Regions from separate parts of the Homo sapiens genome. Here regions 1 and 3 are each linked to region 2. The links are contacts of gene promoters, found by promoter capture Hi-C in blood cells and fetal thymus (Javierre and others, 2016). All regions are on one chromosome and are shown on one strand. The core of a region is centred on a gene start or on the middle of the fragment in contact, and the rest is flanking DNA. Distances in the headings are between cores, read along the strand shown.

What was found. Contacts are between HindIII fragments. The CHiCAGO score rates a contact against its expected background, and 5 or more counts as called.
Region 1: a fragment that was not itself captured here is called in contact with the fragment with the promoter of SLC25A13 in region 2 in 1 of 17 cell types (neutrophils); the score reaches 5.2 in neutrophils.
Region 3: a contact is called between a fragment that was not itself captured here and the fragment with the promoter of SLC25A13 in region 2, in 1 of 17 cell types (neutrophils). The highest score is 6.5, in neutrophils.

The regions. Positions count from the first base shown.
Region 1 is chr7:98,140,688-98,143,387 of GRCh38, forward strand. LMTK2 (lemur tyrosine kinase 2) reads left to right here. Exons shown (of 14, transcript NM_014916.4): 3 at 710-854. Among named protein-coding and RNA genes, the nearest start is that of LMTK2, 35 kb to the left of the region's middle. The HindIII fragment of the contact is 198 bases long and covers 1,264-1,461 here.
Region 2 is chr7:96,320,771-96,323,470 of GRCh38, forward strand. It overlaps SLC25A13 (solute carrier family 25 member 13), which reads right to left and starts at 1,328. Exons shown (of 18, transcript NM_014251.3): 1 at 1,172-1,328. The coding sequence starts at 1,186. RefSeq lists a silencer at 1,124-1,463. The HindIII fragment of the contact is 9,010 bases long and covers 1-2,700 here.
Region 3 is chr7:98,257,380-98,260,079 of GRCh38, forward strand. No RefSeq gene overlaps it. Among named protein-coding and RNA genes, the nearest start is that of TECPR1, 6.5 kb to the left of the region's middle. The HindIII fragment of the contact is 4,932 bases long and covers 1-2,700 here.

The DNA of each region.
Region 1 (2,700 bases), core at 113-2,612, 1.8 Mb after region 2:
AATGCATATACAACTTTAAAATAAAATGATTTATTTTGATTCAGTATGCAAAGAATCATGTCACAAAAGTAATAATATTAAAAGAATTGCTTGGCCAGGCGCTGTGGCTAACATCTGTAATCCTAACACTTTTGGAGCCTAAGACAGGAGGATTGCTTGAGATCAGCCTGGGCAACATAGGGAGACTCTGCCTCTACAAAAAAAAAAAAAATTCAAAAAATTACCTGGGCGTGGTGATGCGTGCCTGTGGTCCCAGCTACTCGGGAGGCTGAGGTAGGCGGCTCACTTGGTTCCTGGAGGTCCAGGCTGCAGTGAGCCATGATCATGCCACTGTGCTCCAGTCACTGTGCTCCAGCCAGGCAACAGAGCAAAACCTTGTCTCAAAAAAAAAAAAAAAAAGAATTGCTTAAACTGTAGTCATTTGAGAGTAAATTTTTAAGCCTAGAAAACTATTTTTGTGTAAATTCCATTGCATTTAACTTCAAACTAACAGTTTAAAAACTTACATGAAATATGTATAATTTATTTTCCTGTCTTATGTATTCTGCTGTTTGGAGTCAGAGAACAAAATTACATATGCTTTTTACTTAACATTAAGTACAAACTGGAAAAAAATAATTGTGGCAGCAAGTTCCAAATCATTGTGCAAATATGTTCCTATTTTAAATGTTAGCCAATGGTTTTTAATGCTTGCTCTCTTTCATTTTAGGAATTTGAAGATAATTTTGATGATGAGATAGATTTCACACCACCAGCAGAAGACACTCCCTCTGTTCAGTCCCCAGCAGAGGTCTTCACACTTTCAGTACCAAATATTTCACTCCCAGCTCCCTCGCAATTCCAGCCTTCTGTAGGTAAGACCATACAGCCTAATGCCACGTTTTCATGAATTGTTTCTGAGATCTGAGAATGGGAGCCTAGCCATCATAAATATTGGACTGCCCATCTCCTCTTTGGTTTATTTCTCTTCCTTCTGCTCCCAGTGAAGCTGAATTCTAGTGGTCAGGCCCATTGTATTCCTGCAATAGCTTTGTCTTCTGCTTTCTGGACCCTGGGTCTGGTATGAGAATAAAACGAATCTCCTTGATTCATTGACATTGAACACCTGGCCAGAACTCCCAGGCTCTGTTCTGGAGGTGGTTTCTCTGCTAGTTCTGGCCACGGCTGACCTTGCTGAGTAGGACTCTGCTGGCTTCCACTGGGATGCCCTGCATTTGGGTAGGAGAGGAAAGTTTGGATATGTTAATCAGATTGACTTTTCTAAGCTTCTTCAGACAGAGGTTTGGTTCTGTGTTAGTTGATGTCTTGTGAAAAAATAGAATGTGACTAGAAAAATAGAATGTGACTATAGTTTTTTTTTTTAGAGTTTGAAATTTAAGCCCTTTTTAGAGTTAGAACTTTTTGTGGTCTTAAGAAATTCTTATTCTGTGATTAAAATAATACCTTTTAAAAAATATTTTAAGCTTTTGCTTTGACCAAAGAAGTAGGTTCAAGAAGTAGGGTTTTCTGAGATTGCCGCAAGAAGGCTGTGTAAGTCTGTAGATGCTAGGACTACCTTTTCTGGTGTGACACACGCTGTGGGCTCTGCCTAGGGCAGAATAAACCCCCGAACTGATGCCACTGCAGGCAGGCATGACTATAAGAAAAAGCCAGATGGAACGTGACATAGTTGGTGCATTTCATTTAAATATTTGTAAAGTAAGAATATATTTAAATTTATAGATTTTGCAGCATTAAAAAAAACAACCTGGAGTGTTTAATTGCTGTAAATAACAATACCCCTACTCCAACCAAAATAATGAAGTTTAAAAGGAGGTCTAATATATTCTTGGGATAACTTAAGTATACTTACTCTAAATGGAAATATTTTATTGTTGCTTGTTTGATAATTTGCTTTCCTTTATACTTAAGAAAAACCTGGAGAGACTTCTCAGAGCTTTTACAGGCCCATAGTCGATCCCCGGTGGATTCATTTCAAGTAGCTGAATTCCAAATTAGATCAGCCTAAGTGGAAACGAGAATTTTCTGACACATGGACCCAGACCGTAGGAAGAACAGGGGTTCAGCTGACCTTGGAGACAGCTAGAACCAGGGCCTGGAACATCATCAGCATTTTAATTCATTTCTGATTTTCTCTTCTCTTTGCATATCTGCTGAATCTCTTAGGCAGCTTCTCTGCTCAGTAGGGAGGTTGGCTGCCAGCAGCTCCACACCCATTCCCTTGTAGTTTTATAACCATAGAGGAAAGGAGCTTCTTTCTCTCTCTCCTTGGACCAGAAAGAAAACCCTTTGGAGGGACATTCTGGTTGTCTTCACCTAAGTCACAGGATGCAGAGCCATCACTGGTCAGGAAGGTGGGGACAGACAGACAGCTTCTCTTCAGGATCTACTGGGGATGGATGGGAGCACAGTCAGATGCAGGCAGAAGAGAAATTATGGTGACCTGGGCAGCCATTGTAATTTTGTTTATATACACACCCCTTTCTGTTTTACTGAAGCCCTGTACCCTAATATCCCTCTCCGTAGGAAGAAATTATTTTAAATTTCTCTGAGTAGAATACCCTCAGAATATTTTTATCATCTTGGGATACGAGAGGCCTTTCCAAGCATGCACCAAATCCAGAATCCATAAAGGAACATACTGCCAAATCTGATTTACAAAAATGAAATATTCTGTATAGAAAAAGACACCACACACAA
Region 2 (2,700 bases), core at 78-2,577:
GATTTGGGGAGCCTGGAGAGACTTAAGTCATAGAACAGCATTTAAATATATTTGTCTGCTTACAATTTCCATTGCAAATGTGATTAGTTTGCTTGAATAAATAGGAATATGATGTGTTGGCCATGTTTTCCTCTTGAGGGTTATCACAGAGTTTTGATTAAGGACAAATGTTTGAAATGTTAGGTATATTTAAGTTCACTGCACTTAAAATGAGCTAAGAAGTTGTATAGGCTTGATTAGAGGGCTGCCTTCGTGAACTTAAATTAAAAGCAATAAATTCCAAATGATTCAAGTGATTGGGACTAAATATGGTATTCTGCCAGAGAAGTTGAAATGCAGTCCAAAGAGACTGAAATGGTGTCCAGGTTTCAAGAAATGGTGAAAGAGGAAAGGTCAAGTGTTGGAGTTGCCTTTCCTCTGGGTTAGTGAATGATTCACATTACACAGAACCCCTTTCAAGTACAACTTCACAGGAGTGACAGGCTCCCAGGACAATCTGTTTCATCGTTCCCAAAAAGAAGCCTCTCAAATGCTCCGAGGCGGGTATCTAAGTGTTGTCAGATGGAGAGAGGGAGGGGGAAGATGGGAATGATGGGAAAGCGGGGAGGGGGAGAGTCCCTGGACTTTTTATTCACAAAGGCGCAGACCAAGTCTCCTAGGCAGTTTCCAAAACGGAAGTCAAAGTAACTTCCCCACCCGCGGGAGGGCGGAGCCCTTGAAACGTAATAGGATCAGGCTTCAGCCCGGGCTCTGGCCCCTGGAAGAAGCCGGAGTCAACAACCAGCGGGGTCAGGAGCAGGAGCGCGCTGGGAAGGTAGAGAGGACCCCCAGCGCTTGCCGGCCCAGGGTGCACCAGGCCCCAGTCGCGCCCGCTCCTCCTCGTCGGCCCTGGCTCAGCCCCGTCAGGCACCAACTTCCCTCCCCGGCCAAGTGGGAGTGTCCGGCCCACAAAGTTTCCGCTGCGAGGTCGGGCCTCGGTCTCTGCACCGACCGCCTGTGCTGCCCGGGAGGAGTGGCCCCCTCCCTCCAGCAGCCGCAAGGTGGAACGGCTGCCCGGCACCCCATTTTGCTCCGCCTGTGGCACCAACCCAGACACGTGAGCGCCCGAGCCTCTCGCACCCCCAGGCTGATCCGGCAGGCGCGCTCCCCCCGGCCTCGGGCCCGCGGTTACCTTGGCGGCCGCCATGATTCGCCCCGGTTGCGGGCGACTGCGGGACCCACTGACTGGCTGGCTGGCGTTTGGGACCCGGGCGGCTCACTTCTAGTCCCGGCGGCGGCGGCGGTGGGGGCGGCGATACGGCCAGGCAGCGTGCGTTCCTGGCCTGCCTCCCCACGCCCTCCCGCCGGCGCGGGTCATGTGGATGCTGCCCGCCCATTGGCTGGGCCCAGCCTTGGCCGCCGGGGTGCGCGTGATCCAGCGGCCTCTGCCCTGCAGCCGGGGAGGGCTCAGATCCTGGGGCAGTGGCTGGACAGGGACACGTGACCCCGCTGCGCTGTCCAGCAGCGGCGGCCTCTGCGGCGTGGGCAGAGGTAACTTGGCCGTGTGCAAGCCCGTCACCTGAGGGCAGGTGGCCCCACCAGGGAAGCTGCTGGCTTCTGCTGATACCAGGGGCTACTGGGCCCTCGGACCGATGGGAGGGGCAAGTAACGACAGATGGTGCACGGCCTGGGGAAGTTGAGAACTCCACTAGGACACATACTTTGCTGGATATTTTTTCCCCTGTGCGTTCCCTTTGAAGGAGCTCCACTTTACACTGGATCCAAAAAGACTTTGATCCAAAAGCATTGACTTAGAAGGCGAGATTGCAAATATTGCTGGCACGCCTACTTTTAGATCAAAATCGGTGAACTCTTAAGAACCCAACAAGTGAATGTAGTGCAGAACGTATATTCATGAAACTACTCCATTTCAGCCCTACCTGTTAAAACGGTAGAAGTCAAAAGGCCCGGGTCAAAAGACTTCCCCCAAATAGGCCCTACTAAAATAAATAAACAAGCATTTTAATGAAAATTTGCTTATATGACCTCCAGGCCTTACTCCTCTTCATCAGGATTTCATTCTTCTGTCCTTGTAATCAAAATTTATAAGACAGTGGTGATCAGGGAAAAGGACTTTTAATGTATTGTAGGTTGTGGATGTAATATGGCAGCAAAAAGCACTTATTACTAATCAGTTTAATTCATTAACGTTGATTGAGTGCCTTCCTACTATGTGCTAGGCACTGTGCTTGGTGCTGGAAACCCCGAAATGACTTAAGAACTGGTTCCAACCGTTAAACAGCTTCAGGGCTATTGGGAAAGAGACACATAAATGTTTACTTCAGTATAACCTGTTAAGGCAGCAGACTGTTCCCAGGGCTCAATAAGAATACTGAGAATTCTCATGCCACTATGAAGAAATACCTGAGACTGGGTAATTTATAAACCAAAAGATTTAATTGACTCAGTTTCGCATGGTTTGGGAGACCTCAGGAAACTTACAGTTGTGGTGGAAGGCACCTCTTTACAGGGTTGCAGGAGAGAGAATGAGTGCCAAGCAAAGGGGGGAAAGCCCCTTGTAAAACCATCAGATCTCATAAGAACTCACTATCACAAGAACAGCATGGGAGTAACCGCCCCCATGATTCCGTTGTCTCTCACCGGGTCCTTCCCATGACATGTGGGGATTATGGGAACTACAATTTAAGATGAGATTTGGGT
Region 3 (2,700 bases), core at 144-2,643, 1.9 Mb after region 2:
GTGGCTCACTCCTGTAATCCCAGCAGTTTGGGAGGCCGAGGCAGGCAGATCACGAGGTCAGGAGATTGAGACCATCCTGGCCAACACGGTGAAACCCTGTCTCTACTAAAAATAAAAAAAATCAGCTGGGCGTGGTGGCACGCGCCTGTAGTCCCAGCTACTCGGTAGGGCGAGACAGGAGAATCGCTTGAACCCGGGAAGCGGAGGTTGCAGTGAGCCGATATCGCGCCACTGCACTCCAGCCTGGGTGACAAGGCAAGACTCTGTCTCAAAAAAAAAAAAAAAAAGAAAGAAAAAAGAAGAAAGAAGAAAAAGAAACAAATGGTCAATAAACTTATGAAGAAGTGCTCAACTACAGCGATAAGCAGGAAAATGCAAATTAAACCCACAATGAGTTGCCTGCCAGACAGGCTAAGGGAGTAGAAGTACGAGCTGGTGCCATCACTGGGGAAATCAGTGACATGACCTCATAGAGCTGAAGCTAAGATTGTGCTGTGGCCCAGCAGTGATTTAGGTGCTGTACGTACACACCTTACCAGCATTCTCTATGTAACAACAGCCCCAGGTGTCCATCTGTAGTGGAATGCATGATCAGTGTGATGGAGTCACATTAGGTTGCTGCAAAAGGACTTGTGGTTTTGGCCATTAAAAGTAATGACAGGGTGGGTGCGATGGCTCACACCAGTTATCCCAACGCTTTGGGAGGCCGAGGTGGGCAGATCACTTGAGGTCAGGAGTTTGAGACCAGCCTGGCCAAAATGGCAAAACTCTCTGCTCAAAATACAAAAATTAGCTGGGCATGGTGGCACACACCTGTAATCCCATCTACTCAGGAGGCTGAGGCAGGAAAATTGCTTGAACCCAGGAGGTGGAGGTTGCAGTGAGATGAGATCATGCAACTACACTCCAGCCTGGGCAACAGAGTGAGACTCCGTCTCAAAAAAAAAGAAAAAAGAAAAAAAGAAAAAAGGCCAGGCATAGTAGCTCACGCCTGTAATCCTAGCACTTTGGGAGGCCGAGGCAGGTGGATCACCTGAAGTCAGGAGTTCGAGACCAGCCTGGCCAACATGGCAAAACCTCATCTCTACTGAAAATGCAAAAATTAATTGGGCATGGTGGCGCATGCCTGTAATCCCAGCTACTCAGGAGGCTGAGGCAGGAGAATCACTTGAACCCCAACGGTGGGGTGAGGTTGCAGTGAGCCAAGATCGCACCACACCACTGCACCCCAGCCTGGGTGACAGAGTAAGACTCCTCTAAAATAAATAAATAAGTAAAAGTAATGACAAAAACCACAATTTCTTTGGCACCAACCTAATACAGTGTAATATTATTGGTAACAAAACAATGAAGTACAACTAAATGCAACAACATGAATGAGTCTTGAACATACACCAAGGAGAGAAAAACCAAACACAAAAGAATATATGTGATCCCATTGACATGTGAATTTCAAAAACAGCCAAGAACTTTATTATAGTGTTTGAGAGTGTATGTTTGGTAGTAAAAGTATAAAGACGGCCAGGCGCGGTGGCTCACCCTTGTAATCCTAGCACTTTGGGAGGCCGAGGTGGGTGGATCAAAAGGTCAGGAGTTCGAGACCAGCCTGGCCAACATGGTGAAATCCCATCTCTACTAAAAATACAAAAAATTAGCTGGGAGTGGTGGTGTGCGCCTGTAATCCCAGCTATTTGGGAGGCTGAGGCAGAAGAATCGCTTAAACCCAGGGGGCAGAGGTTGCTGTAAGCTGAGATGGCGCCACTGCCCTCCAGCCTGGGCGACAGAGCGAGACTCCATCTCAAAAAAAAAAAATGTATAAAGACAAGGAGGTGATTAGCATAATGTTACAACAACCAGGATGTGGATGCCTTTGGGGCAGGAAAGGAACACAGAGGGTTGGCCGTGGCCGGCAAGATTCTCATGCTTGACCTTGGTGGTGTCAGGTTTTGCTTTACAATAATTCACAAGATTTATGTCTGATATGCTTTTCTCTGTGTCTTATGTTTTACAATTAAGGAAGGGTTTTACAAAGCACATATGGTCCAGCCTGGCCAACATAGTGAAACCTGTCTCTACTAAAAAATACAAAATTAGCTGGGCATGGTGGTGCGGGCCTGTAGTCCCAGCTACTTGGGAGGCTGAGGTGGGAGGATCACTTGAGCCTGGGAGGTGGAGCAAATCACCTAATTTTACATGAATGGGATAACTTATCAAGTGACAGCATCACACGATTTGTGTGTGTGTGTGTGTGTGTGTGTGATGGGGTCTCGCTCTGTCACCCAGGCTGGAGTGCAGTGGCATAATCATAGTTCACAGTAGCCTCAACCTCCTGGGCTCAAGCAATCCTCCACCCCCAGCCTCTTGAGGAGCTGCGAGTATAGGTCTGCACCACTATGCCTGGTTAATCCCAGCCTCTTGAGTAGCTGGGAGTATAGGTCTGCACCACCATGCCTGGCTAATTTTTTTGTTTTTTTTTTTTGAGATGGAGTTTTGCTCTCGTTGCCCAGCCTGGAGCGTGGTGGCCTGATCTTGGCTCACTGCAAACTCCGCCTTCCAGTTTCAAGCGATTCTCCTGCTTCAGCCTCCCGAGTAGCTGAGATTACAGGCGCACACAACCACGCCTTGATAATTTTTGTATTTTTAATAGAGACAGGGTTTCACCATGTGAGCCAGACTGGTCTCAAACTCCTGACCTTGTGA